2 separate regions of the Homo sapiens genome follow, and region 2 is linked to region 1. Evidence: promoter capture Hi-C in human tissues and cell types (Jung and others, 2019). All regions are on one chromosome and are shown on one strand. The core of a region is centred on a gene start or on the middle of the fragment in contact, and the rest is flanking DNA. Distances in the headings are between cores, read along the strand shown. Region 1 holds the start of KCNE1 (potassium voltage-gated channel subfamily E regulatory subunit 1). Region 2 has its middle 4.8 kb from the start of CLIC6.

What was found. Contacts are between HindIII fragments. The study calls those that stand out against the background at their distance.
Region 2: a fragment that was not itself captured here is called in contact with the fragment with the promoter of KCNE1 in region 1 in 7 of the 25 tissues and cell types used here (dorsolateral prefrontal cortex, heart left ventricle, liver and 4 more).

The regions. Positions count from the first base shown.
Region 1 is chr21:34,510,746-34,513,736 of GRCh38, forward strand. It overlaps KCNE1 (potassium voltage-gated channel subfamily E regulatory subunit 1), which reads right to left and starts at 1,465. Exons shown (of 4, transcript NM_000219.6): 1 at 1,282-1,465; 2 at 356-570. The HindIII fragment of the contact is 8,709 bases long and covers 1-2,991 here.
Region 2 is chr21:34,662,618-34,665,693 of GRCh38, forward strand. No RefSeq gene overlaps it. Among named protein-coding and RNA genes, the nearest start is that of CLIC6, 4.8 kb to the right of the region's middle. The HindIII fragment of the contact is 6,731 bases long and covers 1-3,076 here.

The DNA.
Region 1 (2,991 bases), core at 215-2,714:
AGAGGCTGAAGCTCACTGACGTCTGTCTGGGGCCCAGGATCACCTTCCTTGATTCCAGCTCTCTCAGGCTGTCAGGACCTGGCGCTGGGAGGCACTAGGCCATGCCCTGGCCTGAGGCCTTCTCTCTCCCTCTTTGCCCTGTGTCTCTGCAGGGAAGCCCGGCCCTGCCCCTGGGAGGGTGGGGGCAGACGTGTGGAGAGTGGGTGTACAAGGCCAGGGTTTGCCAGGCCCAGGACAGCCTGGCACCTGTCAATGGATGAGCGCCTCTCCCTTAGCCTGATGTCAGGGTGGGCATGAGGGTGGGAGCAGAGGGTGCCTAACTGAGGAAAGGGTCTGTGCAACCCCCTTCTCCTACCAGTTCTCGTTTCTGAAGTCTCCTCAAGCACACTGCGGTGTCCACACCATTGGCAGCAGGCTCCTTCTCTTCAGGTGGTCTTAGGAACTTCTCAGAACTTTTTGAGTTATCCTTCTGGTCTCTTCCTCCTGAGCACGGTTCTCCTGGTTGAGCTCCAGGCCATGCCATTCAACGCCCTCCAGGACAGGCCGAAGGGCTTGTCTGTTTGGTGGTTGCTAAGGTTTGAAAAAAGCCAGCTGGAAACTTAATCCCCAAAGCAACAGTGTTGGGAGGTGGGACCTAATGGGAGGTGTTTAGTCATGAGGGCTCCACCCTTATGAATGGATTCTCTCTCTCTTGTTCTCTCTCTCTCTCTTCCCGCCCCGCCCACCCCTCCTTCCCCAACCTTGTGATACCTTCCACCATGTCATGGCAAGAAGGCCCTTGCCAGATGTGGCCCCTCCATCCTGGGTTCCCAGTCTCCAGAACCATGAGCCAAATGCATTTCTGTCTGTTACAAATTATGTACGGTGTGGTTTTCTGTGATGAACACAGTGCTGTACCAGGGCCCTCTTGCCAAGACAGCCAGCTTATAGGAGCCTGCATGTGAGGCCCGGACGTCCTACAGAGCAGCAGTTAGAGGTCTGGCCTTCTGGATAGGCACTGCCCTGCCCTGCACACAGGACCTTGGTGGGGCATGATGGGGCTCTTCACCACGCTGCCCTCATTTTAGGAGGTGGGCAACCCTTTCTCCCCCTTCTCCATGTGCTTCTGCAGTTGGAAGAAGTGAGGGGGGTTCAGACACACTTAAGCTGAGCTTAGAGCAAAGCATGTCCCTCAAGGTGACCTTGCCGCATGGCCTGAACCTAGAATTCCCCTGACCAGGGTGGACAGCCATCACCATGGGCCTTTCTGCCTGGCCTAGTATGGCTCTCCTTCGAACTCACCTAGACCCTTGCATCAAAGGACTCGGGGACTCTGCTGCAGTCATCCTAGCACGGTCGAGAGGAGTAGGAAGGTGCCCAGCGGCTCAGCCTTTAAGGAGGTCTATTGGTCACCATTGCTTCTGCCTTCTTGAGAACCATCACCCTCGGAGGATCCGGTAGTGTATCCCAGTCAAGTGTCAAATGCGTTGTTCCCTGGAGAGGAAGGCTTATTTCCAGAAAGTACTCTGACGTTTTGTAATTTGTGATTTCTATCACTGGCTCAGTGGCCTACCCACTGCTCAGCTCATGTGGCATGACCAGGCTGGGGCGTCGGGTCATCTTGTTCTCTGGGTGTGTGGCAACACTGGTTTATGGCGTAATTTCCTTCCTGAGAAGAAATTCAGTAATTTCTAATATTCAGGGCTTTAGGTAGAGGCCTGAAAATCACTCTCCATGCCTCTTTCAGTATTTTATATATAGTTGTCTCTTGGTATCCATGGGGTTTGGTTCCAGAATCCCCTGCAGATACCAAAATTTGCGAATGTTCAAGTCCTTTATATATAGTGGCATAGTATTTGCATATAACCTATGCATATCAGCCAATCATAGATGGTGATTTAAATCATCTCTTGATTACTTCTAACACCTAATACTATGTAAATGCTTTGTAAGTAGTTGTTACCTGGCATTTTTTTATTTGTTTTATTTTTGTTGTTGTTTCATTAATTTTATTTTATTTTTGGAATATTTTCAGTCCATTGTTGGTTGAATCCACAGATGCAGAAGCCTTAGACACAGAGGGCCGACCACACCTATGTATGCTGTTCTTAAAGTAGCAACATATTTGTTCTGAACATAGAAGAAATTAGTCGTCTATTAGACTTTAAGGGAGTAAATATGGTCCAAGTTGATTTTTAAATTTAGCAAATAGTCATAGACATATCAGTGTCTTACAGAAAATATTTATTGGAATGCTCACTCTCTCATTTGGGATACTGCTTTGCCTTGCTGTGTCTTAAGAATGTCATCAGAGCATCACACACTTGAAAAACGTTTTTAAAAGGATATGATGATAATTAAGACCTTCTCCCCAACCCCTGCCCATTATCCAAGATCAATGTTTTTTTCCTTTATCCTGATTTTAAAATCAAGTACACTTTATTGAGGCATACTTTACATGAAGCAAAATGTACCCTTTCTAAATATGATAAGTTTGATGAGTTTTCAACAGATGTATACAGCTGTTACCATGACTGTGTCTTTACCCAGGTTCTTGCATTGCTCAATCCAGATACAGAATGTCTCCATCACCCTGACAAGTTCCTTTGTGCCGCACCCTCTAGCCAATCATCTGTTTTGAGGAGAGTTTTAAAACAAAGGTTTTTGTTCTTTTTCACTGATGACCATAACCTACCACAGACAGGGTCTCTCTCTCTCTCTCTCTCTCTTTTTCCCTGTTCTTGCGCCAGCTGCCTGACAATTTGTGGGATTAAAGCTCTAAGCTGCTTACTGGCTCTTCTGACTAGGGAGAGGGAGCAAGCCTCATTATTTTTCTATTCTTTTCAGTGACTGCTCACTCCTCTTCCTCCAAAATCCCTATCCATCCATCCATCCATCCATCCATCCATCCATCCATCCATCCATCCAACTTTCCATCTACCCATCTATCCTTCCATCTATCCAATCCACTTGCGTGTTGAACGTCTACTATGAGCCATTGGCTACCAGGAA
Region 2 (3,076 bases), core at 400-2,899, 150 kb after region 1:
AATCAGAGAAAATATAAACTATCATTTGATAAGGGACTAATATCCAGAATATACAGGAAACTCAAAAAACTCAACAGTAAAAAACCAAATAATACAATAAAAAAAGTGGGCAAAGGACATGAATAGACATTTCTCAAAAGAAGACATACAAATGACCAACAGGTATATGAAAAAATGCTCAACGTCATTAATCCTCAGGAAAATGCATATCAAAATGACAATGAGATACCATCTTACTCCAGTTAAAATGGCTATTACTAAAAGACAAAAAAATCAGATGCTGATAAAGATGTGGTGAAAAGGGCACTGTTGGTGAGAGTGTAAATTAGTACAGCCACTATGGAAAACAGAATGGAGATTACCAAAAAACTAATAATAGAACTACTATATGATCCAGCAATCTCACTAAATGGTTATTTATCCAAAGGAAAAGAAATCAGTATAAAAAAGGGATGCCTGCACCCCCATGTTTATGGTGGCACTATTTACAGTAGCCAAGATATGGAATCAACCTGTGTCCATCAACAGAGGAATGGATAAGGCAAGTGTGGTATATATATATACACACAATGGAATATTATGTGGCTATAAAAAGAATGAAATTATGTCATTTGCAGCAACACAAATGGAACTGAAGGTCACTATGAAGGTCATTATGTTAAGGTCAAAATGTTGTATGTTCTCACTCCTATGTGGGAGCTAAAATGGTTGGTCTCATGGAGGTAGAGAGTAGAATGATAGATACCAGAGGCTGCAAAGGGAGTGTGGGTGAGTAGGACGATGAAGAGAAGTAGGCTAATGGGTACAAACATACAGTTAGATAGAAGGAATAAGCTTTAATGTGTGGTAGCACAGTAGGGTGACTATAGTTAAGTTAACAACAATATATTGTCTATTTCAAAATAACAAAGAGAGAGGACCTGAACTGGTCCCAACACATAGAAATGATAAATACTTTAGGTAATGGATACCTTAAATACCCTGACTTGATCATTACACATTCTACGCATGTAATAAAATATCACATGTACTGCATAAATAATGTACAAATATGTATCAGTGAAACAACTGACAATGACAAGGTTCCTTTTATAACCCTCACTGTTCCAGATGAAAAACTGAATCAAGATCATATAGTTATTACGAGATAGGGCAGGGATTTAAATCAGACCATTTAATCCAAGAACCACCCATTTCACCATGATTGTCATGTGTGTCAGTTCCATGTAATGTTCTTACTGACCTGCAAGATGATGTGTACGTGCTTCAGGATCTACTGACTAGCAGGCTTTGAAATCCCTGCCTCCTAGTACAACCTATTCTGCAGTGACACTCTTCTTTTAACTGAAATGTACCTTACCAAGTAACTGAAGAAAGCCAGCCAGATTAAGAAGCGGGTTTGGGGCCACTTGTAGGTAAGTGAGTGCAACTGTTTGAGGAGAATTCCAGGCAAGGAGAAACTTTACTCAGCTCTAAGTGTATCCTGTGATCTAAATGTTACAGATACATTATAATCCCACGGGCTCTTCTGAAAGGAGCAGATACCTGCTAGAGAAAGAGCAGATTTCTATGGAGATGAGGCCATTCCTTCTGGAAAAGCAACAAAAGCAACAAACCCTTACATTGTTTATAAGCCCTTAAGGTTTTCTTGTAATCCGAGTTTACCTGCTTCATGATTCCTTATAATATATGGCAGAAGGACTGTATAATTATTAAAAGTTACTTAAATATCAACGCTTTCATTTCTTGTCATCCACCTCTGAATCTGTCACCTCTGTTTAACCCTCCCTGGTATTTAAATAGCTAATCTAGTGTTGGAGGCCAGGTTAACAACGTGCACGTCTCTAAGTGACTTCATAGCGACCTTCACACGTCTATTTATTTGGTATTTCCTTTGTGTTCCTTTATATGAACTGACTGAGCCCTTGCTAATAATTAAAAGAATTTGCTAAAGTATTCTTTTGGCAAAGTCAGTAGATAAGAATTTCTGTAAGTGGCTCATGCCTGTAATCCCAGCACTTTGGGAGGCCGAGGCGGGTGGATCACGAGGTCAGGAGATCGAGACCATCCTGGCTAACACGGTGAAACCCTGTCTCTACTAAAAATACAAAAAATTAGCCGGGCGTGGTGGAGGGCACCTGTAGTCCCAGCTACTCGGGAGGCTGAGGCAGGAGAATGGCATGAACCCAGGAGACGGAGCTTGCAGTGAGCCGAGATAGCACCACTGCCGTCTGGCCTGGGCAAAAGAGTGAGACTCCGTCTCAAAAAAAAAAAAAAGAATTTCTGTGAATAGTGTGTCTTGTGACATTAGCTTGCCCACCAAAGTATAAAACTAACTGAGAAAAGTATTTTCCAAAACTAGTTCAGGTTGGTGCATATGTATTTGAAGGCACGTGTGTATTCACTCATTCAGGAAATATTTATGGAGCTCTACTATGTGCCTGGTCTATCCTAGGCAATGACAAGCAAAAACCCCTGCTTTCACAGAATCACCATCCTAGTGGGGTGAGGTAGGGCAGACAGATAACAACTAGAATATATTATGTGTCAGATGAAGATAACTGCTATGGGGGAAAATAAGGCAGAGAAGGATGCCAGAGAGTAGGGGTTGTGTTTTAAAATGGAATGCTTGGGGCGGGCATGGTGGCTCATGCCTGTAATCCAAGTACTTTGGGAGGCCAAAGCAGGCGGATCACGAGGTCAAGAGATCGAGTCCATCCTGGCCAACATGGTGAAACCCCATCACTACTAAAAAAAATACAAAAATTAGCTGGATGTGGTGCCATGCGCCTGTAGTCCCAGATACTCGGGAGGCTGAGGCAGGAGGATCACTTGAACCTGGGAGCTGGAGGCTTCAGTGAGCCGAGATCACACCACTGCACTCTAGCCATTTTATAAAAGTAAAATGGAGTGCTTGGGGAAAATAATTAATCAGAGACTGCAGCAAGGTAAGGGAGTAAGCCATGAGAATATAGGGGGCATCCCAGGCAGAGGCCCAGCAAGTTCTAGGGACGGCAAGCAGGCTGGTGTTTTAGGGGCTGCAGAAGTCTAGTAAGCCAGAAAGAGACTGGGATTG